Regions from separate parts of the Homo sapiens genome. Here all the other regions are linked to region 2. Evidence: promoter capture Hi-C in human tissues and cell types (Jung and others, 2019). All regions are on one chromosome and are shown on one strand. Each heading gives the region's core, a stretch centred on a gene start or on the middle of the fragment in contact. The rest is flanking DNA. Distances are from core to core; before and after follow the strand shown.

Region 1 (3,212 bases), core at 331-2,830, 170 kb after region 2:
TTACCTACTATGTAGCCCAGTGACTAAATATTAAATGCAGCCATATTAACATTGTATAAGTTATATTTGGTCTCATGAGTCCATGCTGAATAAACAGGGCTGGTTTTATAAATAGTTTCTCTAACGAGCATTTATTTCTAAACTTAAGAAAGAAACAAAGAGAGGTGGGGCATGGTGGCTCATGTCTATAATCTCAGCACTTTGGCTTTTTTTTTTTTTCGAGATGGGGTCTCCCTCTGTCACCCAGGCTGGAATGCAATGGTGCGATCTCGGTTCACTGCAACCTCTGCCTCCCGGGTTCAAGCTATTCTCCTGCTTCGGCCTCCCAACTAGCTGGGATTACAGGCATGTGCTACCACGCCTGGCTAATTTTTGTATTTTTAGTAGAGATGGGGTTTCACCATGTTGGCCAGGCTGGTCTCGAACTCCTGACCTCGTGATCCACCTGCCTCGGCCTCCCAAAGTGTGGGGATTACAGGCGTGAGCCACTGAATCTCAGCACTTTGGAAGGCCGAGGCAGGAAGATTGCTTGAGCCCAGGAGTTTGAGACTAGTCTGGACAAGATGGAGACCCCCCATCTTTACAAATTAATTAGTTACCTAATTTAATTAAACATTTTTTTAAAAAGGAACAGAGCAAACACTGGTGACCAGTGATTTGTATTCATGGCTGGTGCAGACATATAGTAGTTAATATCCTGATTATCAGTATTTCGCTTGAAACAGCTTGTACACTGTCTGCCATGTGAATAAGAGAATGGAGGTCAGTGTTTCCGGAACACATTTCAGGGTAAGTAATTAGAGAACTAGCTTACAAAAACCAGAGAAACTGCCCAGTCTCCCCACCCTAACCCTGCTCAACTCCTTCCTGCAAGCCACTTCCGGGCCAGCTTCCTTTTGCTCTCAGCAAACAGGTGAAACTGAGCTCCCGTTCTCAAGCTTTCCCTGCAGCAGAGCCAGAGGACTTTCCAGAAGGACTTTGCTACTAAATATATCACAAACTTAAAAAATTAATGCACAACATTGTACCTATAGTCAACAATAGTGTATTGTATACTTAAAAATGTGTTGAGAGGGTAGAGTTCATGCTAAGTGTTCTTACCACAATCAAATAAAAAAGAAAAAGAAATGCAATGGGTATTATTAACTGTCCATAGAGGATGCCTATCTTCTCTCCTGTACCCCCTCCTCCCTGCCAATAAAGCAAGGATTGGGCGGAGTGCCCACTGCTGGTGTAGCCCACAGGGGTTGTGCAGAGGTGGCTCTGCAGGTTCTATGTGACTGCACGCCTAGGCAGCCTGGGGGGATGGAACATCTGTAAGCCTGGTGGCCTGGGTGCTGCCACTCAGGTAGAAACCCCAGAGCTTCCTGGCTCGGAGCTCTTGTTCCTCAAGCTCTACCAACTACCAGTTAGATCAGGGAGCAGCAGGGCATAATGTTCGAGCACTCTGGCTGATTAGAAGGCATGAAACAGCCCTGGTGGGACCAACACAGGGCTCTCTGAGAGTTCTGCACCCTCGGGGCAGGGCACTGGAGCAAGAGAAAACCTTGATGTCAGCGATCGAACCCTTCACCTTTCAATATGTTTATTAGAAAGGGAAAGAGACCGTGTGTGTGCGTATATGTGCATGTGATGACTATATGTTAACTTACAAAGGTAAAACCAAGCAGACTTAGAAGGATTTTTCAAAAAGGACCAAGTTCTAAAAGTAATTCTGATTTGTTATTCGCATTCACTATGTATTCTCTCTCTGTACCTTGCAACTCAAAAACAGTCTATTCTGTATATGCTGGATTAACCCTGGATGTGTATTACATGGTTACAATAGAATGCTCTGAATACCAATGCTTAGAGAGAGCAATCAAACAGGGGTAACCAGGGTTTGCATTTGGGAGCTATACTGCAGAAATCAGAAATTGTCTATGACTGTGCAGTAGCCACATGATCAAATTCTAACATCAGCCAGTCTGCACAGTTGACTAATTAGATCTCCTGGCTCTTTAAGTAGGAAGGGTAAAAGCAAGCTTGTTGAAAGGTTTCACTGGTCACTTCACAACTTTGTTCATTATCAAACTTCAACTCGTGTGTACTAGGCAGATATTAAATGCAGGCTGATTAGAAGAGAGTTTATATTTATAAACACCAAGGCACAGTTTTGCACTTCACAAAAAGCAATTTGCATTTGCCAAAAAAAACCTGATCCAAATACTACTCAGGAGTAAAATATGTTATTATCTCATATCCATGCATTCCGCTAGACAGCCCCAGAAAGAACACTTCTTTCTCCAATGTTGCAAAATGTTCAACTTCACCACATTGCCAGGAAGAGAAAAGTATTTTCCATCTTTAATACCATAAATAGTTTGTTTTTCAAACTGGTTCCAGGAAAAAGGGTGGTGGAATATTACATATCTGAACTCCTGACTAATGCCAAATATGCTGAAACATTTTCCAAAGAAAACATGTCGTAAGCATTAAGTCTTATTAGACCTCACACTTTGGTAAAGTATTCTTAAGATCTGGGGACTAAGCATTCTTAAAAAAAAAAAAAAAGTACAGCTTCCCTTCTGAATATTGTTCTGCTCAAAGACAACCGTCAAGAATCCTCGCTCGAGCATTTTCAATAATAACTTCAGTAATATTCACAAAAGCAAGGATTTCTTCTGCTGCCCGGGAGAGTGCTGGCTTTGAGAGAGTTGAGAAAGGACTTACAGAATCTTGGCGTTTTTTTTTTTTTTAGGACAAGGTCTTGTTCTATTTTCCAGGCTATGGGTGCAGTGGCATAATCACAGCTCACTGCAGCCTCATCCTGGGCTCAAGCAATCCTCCCACCTCAGTCTCTTGAGTAGCTGGGACTACAGACATGCACCACCATGCCATTTTTACAAAAAGTAAAGTTTTTGTTTGTTTGTTTGTTTACTTTTTGTAGCGATGGGGTCTCACTATGTTGCCCAGGCTGGAAGAATCTGGTTTGAAAGGAAGACAATTTTTTTGTGGCTGCAATCCAGTTCAGTGCAACACGTATACTAGCTAGACTAGACTAAGGGTTGTCATCTGATTGAACACCAAGACTGACCTGGTAATCCTGACATAGAGGTGCAGCCAAAGACCCTCTCTCTATTTCCTATGGGCACTTCCAGCAAAGAGAAGGGCATGGGGCTGAGTGGCTCAGGCAGTGCAGCTTCCCCCGGTAGTGGTGAGGGGCCAAGGAG
Region 2 (3,571 bases), core at 535-3,034:
GTTAGGTTTACATTTAAGTACGTCATATTCTTGTGTGTGCTGTTGTAAATGATATTTTTTATTTTAGAAGAATCTAAAATATTTTGATTCCTAGTATATAAGAATAGAAATGGCTTTTGTATATTTACTATGTATCCGAAAACTTGCTAAACAAGCATTTTTGAAAAAAAAGACAATCTGTCTCTATTTTCTCATTGACTATAAAATTCCTATTTCAAAGCACTTTGAAAAAGATGTTTGAAGAAAAACCTATGTATTTTCTCGTATTATAGACAATTCACAAGAAAAAGCACACAGGCCAGATGCCGTGGATCATGCCTATAATTTCAGCACTTTGGGAGGTTGAGGCGAGCAGATTGCTTGAGATCAGGAGTTTGAGACCAGTCTGGCAGACATGGTGAAACACCATCTCTACTAAAAATACAAAAATTATCTGGGCGTGGGGGCACATGCCTGTAATACCAGCTACTCGGGAGGCTGAGGCACGAGAATCGCTTCAACCTGCGAGGTGGAGGTTGCAATGAGCCGAGATCACACTACTGAGCTCCAGCCTGGACAACAGAGGGAGACTCTGTCTCAATTAAAAAAAAAAAAAAAGAGAGAGAGAGAGAGAAAAAAGTCCACAAATGGCTTCTGAAGATAAGAAAAGATGCTCAGACAGCTTGAAATAAGGGAAGCTGAAATTGAAACTTTGCTGACAAATTATGTTTCATCTCTAATATTAGCAAATATCTTAACCTTTGGTAATAGGGTATGCTAGCCATCTTCGTCATACAAGCCCACGTGGAAGGCAATTTGGCAATATCTAGCAAAATTACAAAATTACAGTCCTTAACCCAGCAATTCAATTTCCAGGAATGTATCCTACAGATATTCTTGCAAATGTACAAATGACAAATGTACAAGATTACTAATTGTAATATGTTTATCATAGAAGAAAAAAATACCTTAAGTGTGAGTCAATATGGAATTGGCTAAATATGTTATATCTACACAATGTAATACTATATAAACTTAAAACTAGATTTCAACAAGATCTTTGCATTATTTGCAGATGGAATTTAATAAAATACAATAATTAGTTAGGTACAACTAACAACAAACTTATACTGAGATCTACATATTCCAATGAGAATTCATTTCAAATGTGTCATTAAATCTGAACACAGAAATAAATGGACCTTCAAACTAGCTCTTTATTGAGTCACAAAGTGTTAAGCCAAATTTTTAAAAAACAATGAAATCATGTTAATTATACATAAAAATTTTTTATTTCTTTTGTGGCCCTCCTTTGACAATATTTTATTAATTAACAATATAACTATAGCAAAGAAATGTGCTGTTAATTAATTTTTAATGTTAATTTCACCTCTCATTCATTTTCAGATTTTAGTTTTGTGTATGTTGATAATTTATGTAGCATATTAGTACAGAGGTACAGAAGTGTGATTTATAATTTAATATACATCTAAAGAGGATACATGCTTAACTTTATTAATGGAATTTGTGATAAAGTTTGCAGACTGTTGCCTTAGAGAAGAGCTCTCACTTGGACGGGAGGCCCTGGCCAAGTTGTGTAGTGAGGACAGTTGTTGAGAGGAAAAGAGAAAAAACGAGAGGTATTAAGGCCCAGAAGAGAGTTAGCACCTGCTTCAGAACACAAGCGTGCAGGATGATATAGCTTTTAGTGCCAAGAAGTAGAATTCTAGCATCTCTAGGTGGTGAGAAACAAAGGACTAAGAATTTTTCTTTCTCTAACACTCTAAAGAAAGGTTCTTGAGCTAGGAAAGGATTACTCGAGCCTTGTTAGAATCAGACATGGCTTCAGGGGATGCAGGACGCTCCCCTGAGCTGCCTGTCACCGACTAAGTGGAGCAGTGTTTCTTCCGCAGACTCAACTGAGAAGTCAGCCTCTGCGGCAGGCACCAGGAATCTGCCTTTTCAGTAAGACCTAAATTACTCTTATGAAGCCACCTGTCCCTGAGAACCAGCAATGGCAGGTTCTTGAAGGATGTAGAACATGATGCTTGGGGTTATCATTGCTACGGGTTTTGTTTTGACTTGTTTGAGATCAGTTAACATTCTAAGGCAGAGGATGGAAACCAACCTTATTTGTAAGCTCTGCATCTTTTTTTTTTTTTTTGAAACAGGATGTCACTCTGTTGCCCAGGCTGGAGTGCAGTGGCACAATCACAACTCACAACAGCCTCAACCTCCCAGCCTTAAAAGATCCTCCCACCTCAGCCTCCCAAACAGGTGGGACCACAGTCACACACCACTATGCCTGGCTAATTTTTGTGTATTTTGTAGTGACAGAGGTCTACCTTTGTTGCCCAGGCTGGTCTCAAACTCCTGGCTTCAAGCAATTTGCCCTTTTCACCCTCACAAAGTGCTGAGATTACAGGTGTGGGCCACCATGCCCAGCCTAAGCTCTGCATCTTAAACCTCGTTTGTCTGTCCCTCACAGCTTAGCACAATGCTGTACACCACGGACTGGCATGATCTCTCTGAAAAGGGCCAGATAATAATATGTTAGGCTTTGTGGTCTATACAGCCTCTAACACAGCTACTCAACTCTGCCACTGCAGCAGGAAATCAGCCACCAACAATATATTACCAAATGATGAGAGTAGCTATGTTTCAATAAAACTTTACATACAAAAGCGGGCCTGGTTTGCCCACGCTTGCTATTCACGTTTGTAATGTACATGCCCCTCATGCAATGCAGTTCCTTATCTTATTGCTTAGTCACCTTAAAGCCCTGCTTGTTACTCGGTGCGGTGGCCTTGCTGATGACTACTTATCCCTGTTTTGGGCCTAGCCTTTCAATGCAGGAATCCAGCCCCAGGGAGAGAAACTAATGACTAGAGAAGTTTCCAGGCAAGTGCAGAAAATGACACGGGATGAACATATGTAAGAACATCAAGTTCAGGATCCCGAGTAGTTGTCAGAAATTTCACTTCACCCCATCCCAGCAAGGCTGTTGTGTTTGGGGAAGACATTATTTTAAGAGGGGAGGAGATTGTGGAAAATCAGTAGGCAGCAGGAGACAGCGCTCTTGATCCTACTCCCATTTCAGACGATTCTATGGGGGCCTCTTTATTGTCCCTCTGCTCCCCCAGGTGCTTTCCTCCTTTCATGAGGCTTTGTCCTCCATCCCTCTTGCTCCCCAGTCAGGTGCCAGACTTTTAGGAGGCCGCCCGGAGCACTGGTTGTGAAGCTTAGCAAAGCAATGCATTTGCAATCTAAGATAAAACACTAGTACTTTGGAAGCAATGCTCCCACATTTTGAAATGCATCAAGAAAAGAAAAGGAAAGATTAGGTGCTTAATCTTCACCCTTCAATAAACCCCCAAACGATGAATCTTTTTTTTTTTGAGGCGGAGTCTCGCTCTGTCGCCCAGGCTGGAGTGCAGTGGCGCAATCTCCGCTCACTGCAAGCTCAGCCTCCTGGGTTCACGCCATTCTCCTGCCTCAGCCTCCCGAGCAGCTGGGACTACAGACACATGCCACCACACCCGGCTAATTTTTTTGTATTTTTAGTAGAGACGGGGTTTCACCGCATTAGCCA
Region 3 (3,575 bases), core at 119-2,618, 210 kb after region 2:
ACCAAGTGAAAAGAACACTTTTTAAATTCAAATCTCTGCTTCCCCATTTTCTGTCCATGTGACCTTGGGCAAGTCACTTAAACTCGTAGAGCTTTGGTTTCTTTATTATATAATGGAAAAAAGAAAAGCTATCTTGTTTTCATTTTACTTTTCATAATATCAAAACCTCTTAACCTACAGCTCTAACCATAGGAGAAAAGTGAAATCATGTATTGCATGTATTTATACTGTACTAAAATGTTTTTGAAAAACATACTTTCATTTACTCAGTTAATATCCCTGATGCAGTGACCCTGAAAGTTGCTGTTACAAGGCTTGTTTTGTATTTGAGGGATCTGAAATTTGGAGATTAGTAACTTGTCCAAGATCACTCAGATAATACACATGGCCAAAATTCTAACTCAAATATATTGCCTTCAAAATTATATAGCCATTAGGTTACTATATTCTTGGACTTCGCAGGTGCTAAGTCACCCACTCATTCAAGAGACACTTACGCACATCAGTGGGCCCCAGGGATTGCTATAGGTATTGGAGGTACAGCCCACATTACTCATGGGCTGCTGTCAACCATGAAGCCACTGGCCAGTCCCCCTCACTTATGCATGCAGCCCTCAGTTGACACCAAGTTGCCTCCCACATCCTTGTTTGCCTGAAACCCACCACCATGAGTGGTTCTAGCTAAGTCAACTGCTGCCCAGTTGGGTCCCCCAGTTTTATCCCTCAGATCCAAGATTCACAGAGCATAGTCTGGGTGCAGAGACCTCCTGGCAGAAGGAGATACTGGAATATTGAGATGTACCTTCTTGGCTCTAGTTAGTTACATTTGGGGAAACTTCAGATGCTCCCCATCCTGATGCACAGATTATAGCTCTAACTGCTCTCAGAAGAACAGCAAATTAGAGAGCATACCAAGAGTTTATACTTTTTAAAAGCTTAAATCTGATTTCAAAACAATTCCTGTTTACTAAAGACTTGCTAGAAAATAGGGATAATGAAATTTACCCACCAATCCCAACACTCAGATCAACAATAATTGCTGTCAACATTTTAGTGAACATCGTTCTGATTTTGTAAAGCACAGATATTAAGATTTTGTAACCTTTATCTCTGGCACCTGCTTCTAAAATCAGCTTTGCAAGTGAGAAGAAAAGAATAACCACTATATCGTTTAAAAGACAATTCTGCTCCTTTATCCGTTCATGCAACAAATATTTGAGTGTGTAGTATATGCCAGTCACAGTTTTAGGTGCTGGGGAGCAGCAGTGCACAAAACTCAATGGCCTTCATGGAGTCTAGAGTTTTGTCAGGGAGAGAGAGACACTGAACAAATAAATAAATACACATAAGTGCACAATTTATGACACGTTTCAAGAGGAAATGAACAAGGTGAAGGAAGTGAATGGGATGGGGAGAGATACTTTGGGACTAGAACTTACTTAGGTCAGGGAGAATATTTCTGAGACTGTGACGCTCACATAAACATAATGTTCTAGATTATAGCAGCCTGGTATAAGTCAAAAGTCACTGTGGATGAATAAACATTTGTCACTTAAGTCCGTGTTTCAATTTTGTTATTAATTGATATGGACAGATCTTGCCACTGCATTCTAGCCTGGGCAACAGAGCAAGACTCGGTCTCAAAAAAAAAAAGAAAAGAAAATAATATTATAAAGAAATGTTGCTTTACATAGTCCCCATAAATACACCATAATCAAATACAATCAATTACACAGTATTTGAACCTGTTTTAGTCCCTGGTGGAAAGTCTGAGGTAAAAGAAAAAAATATGGGCTTTAGTGTTATATAACATCCAGATGCCAATTTTTTTCTTTTTTGGCCTGATACTAGCTGTTGATTTAGAAAAGCTATTTAATCCCTTTGAGCTTTACTTTCCTTGATTATAGGAAAAAAAAAAAGGCATAAATAGAGTGAAAAAAGTTAACCTTCTTGATGCCAGAGAAATAGAGTAGCGCTTGGTGGTGGATGGGTTTTTCTTTCAACTCAATAGGGCTCTGTTAGTAACAGAAACCCCGCATGGAGGTTTCTCCAGTGCCTGGAGAAACCTGGGTAACCGACTCAGCAGGTTGAAGCCTTATCACTGTGGCTTTTCTTTTTAAGATATGGAAACTTCCGGTTTCCTTTTGTGCCTCTTTTATTTCACTTACTTTATTGCATCACAAGCTATGTGGTAGTGGTTTCATTTTTACCATGTGAACTGGATTATCCCACTGCAAATCTCCCTTGAGTTCTTGGAAAAATATCTAACATTGATAAGAAACAGGAAAATTTTAAGAAAATACCCAACTAAGGAACTATTGAATGTTTGACATAGTTTGCAGAGGCTTTAGGAGATCTTAACAGGTTCTTTTTTTCTTTCTTTTCTTTTCTTTTGAGACAGGGTCTCCCTCTGTCATCCAGGCTGGAGTATAGTGGCACAATCCCGGGTCACTGCAACCTCCACCTCCAGGGTTCAAGCGATTCTCCCGCCTCAGCCTCCTGAGTCGCTGGAATTACAGTGTGCGCCACCACAGCCTGGCTAATTCTTGTACTTTTAGTAGAGACGGGGTTTCACCATTTTGGTCAGGCTGATTTCAAACTGCTGACCTCAGGTGATCTGCCCACCTTGGCCTCCCAAAGTGCCGGGATTACAGGCCTGAGTCACCTCCCCTGGCAACAGTTTCTTTCTTTCTTTTTTACTTTCTCTCTTTCTTTCTTTCTTTCTTTCTTTCTTTCTTTCTTTCTTTCTTTCTTTCTTTCTTTCTTTCTTTCTTTCTCTTTCTTTCTTTCCTTCTTTCTTTCTTTCTTTCCTTCCTTTTTTCCTTCCTTCCTTTCTCTTTCTTCCCTCTTTCTTTCCCTCCCTCCCTCCCTTCCTTCCTTCTTTCTTTTTTATTTTTGAGACAGAGTTTAGCTCTGTCACCCAGGTTAGAGTGCAGTGGCGTGATCTTGGCTCACTGCAACCTGCACCTCCTGGATTCAAGCGATTCTCCTACCTCAGCCTCCTGAGTAGCTGGGATTACAAGCGCCTGCCACCATGCCCCACTAATTTTTTTTCTTTTAGTAGAGATGGGGTTTCACCATGTTGGACAAGTTTGTCTTGGACTTCTGACCTCTAGTGATCTGCCTGCCTCGGCCTCCCAAAGTGCTGGGATTACAGGTGTGAGCCACCATGCCCAGCTAACAGTTTCTTTAGAAAGGTCAGTTTAAAGGCCTGTTTTTGTGTCTCAGGGAACTACATGGAGTGTTTGTTTTTTAATACACTGGGACAAAGAAGAGCAAGCCTAGTGTTTAATGTCCTGAGCCTTTAGCTATGTGGCTGCCCAGGCGGGCTTTTCTTTTCCTAACCCAGCTGGATTGCCATAGACCAACGAGAAGTGGCTTGACCCAGGAAGAAAACATGGGTTCTATCCCCAGGAGTGGAGTCAGAGTATTTCCCAGATGCTGGTCCCCATCCAACTAGAGGCTGTTTCCTCTGCCTTGCAACCACTGGCAGGTACAGGCACTTCTGCCCACAAGACAGTCTGGCAGCAGTAGCATTTCCTAAGAGATCCAGTGACAGATGGCTCTGACAGGAT

Evidence for each region. The method cuts DNA at HindIII sites, captures the fragments that hold promoters and counts their contacts. A contact is called where the count stands out against the background at its distance.
Region 1: a contact is called between a fragment that was not itself captured here and the fragment with the promoter of LYZL2 in region 2, in 2 of the 25 tissues and cell types used here (H1 embryonic stem cells and spleen).
Region 3: a fragment that was not itself captured here is called in contact with the fragment with the promoter of LYZL2 in region 2 in 2 of the 25 tissues and cell types used here (lymphoblastoid cells and mesenchymal stem cells).

The regions. Positions count from the first base shown.
Region 1 is chr10:30,454,092-30,457,303 of GRCh38, reverse strand. The region is part of intron 6 of MAP3K8 (mitogen-activated protein kinase kinase kinase 8); the gene reads right to left. Among named protein-coding and RNA genes, the nearest start is that of MAP3K8, 22 kb to the right of the region's middle. The HindIII fragment of the contact is 4,028 bases long and covers 1-3,212 here.
Region 2 is chr10:30,627,966-30,631,536 of GRCh38, reverse strand. It overlaps LYZL2 (lysozyme like 2), which reads left to right and starts at 1,784. Exons shown (of 5, transcript NM_183058.3): 1 at 1,784-1,944. The HindIII fragment of the contact is 10,435 bases long and covers 1-3,524 here.
Region 3 is chr10:30,417,443-30,421,017 of GRCh38, reverse strand. No RefSeq gene overlaps it. Among named protein-coding and RNA genes, the nearest start is that of MAP3K8, 15 kb to the left of the region's middle. RefSeq lists enhancers at 2,190-2,259, 2,300-2,419. The HindIII fragment of the contact is 6,307 bases long and covers 1-3,575 here.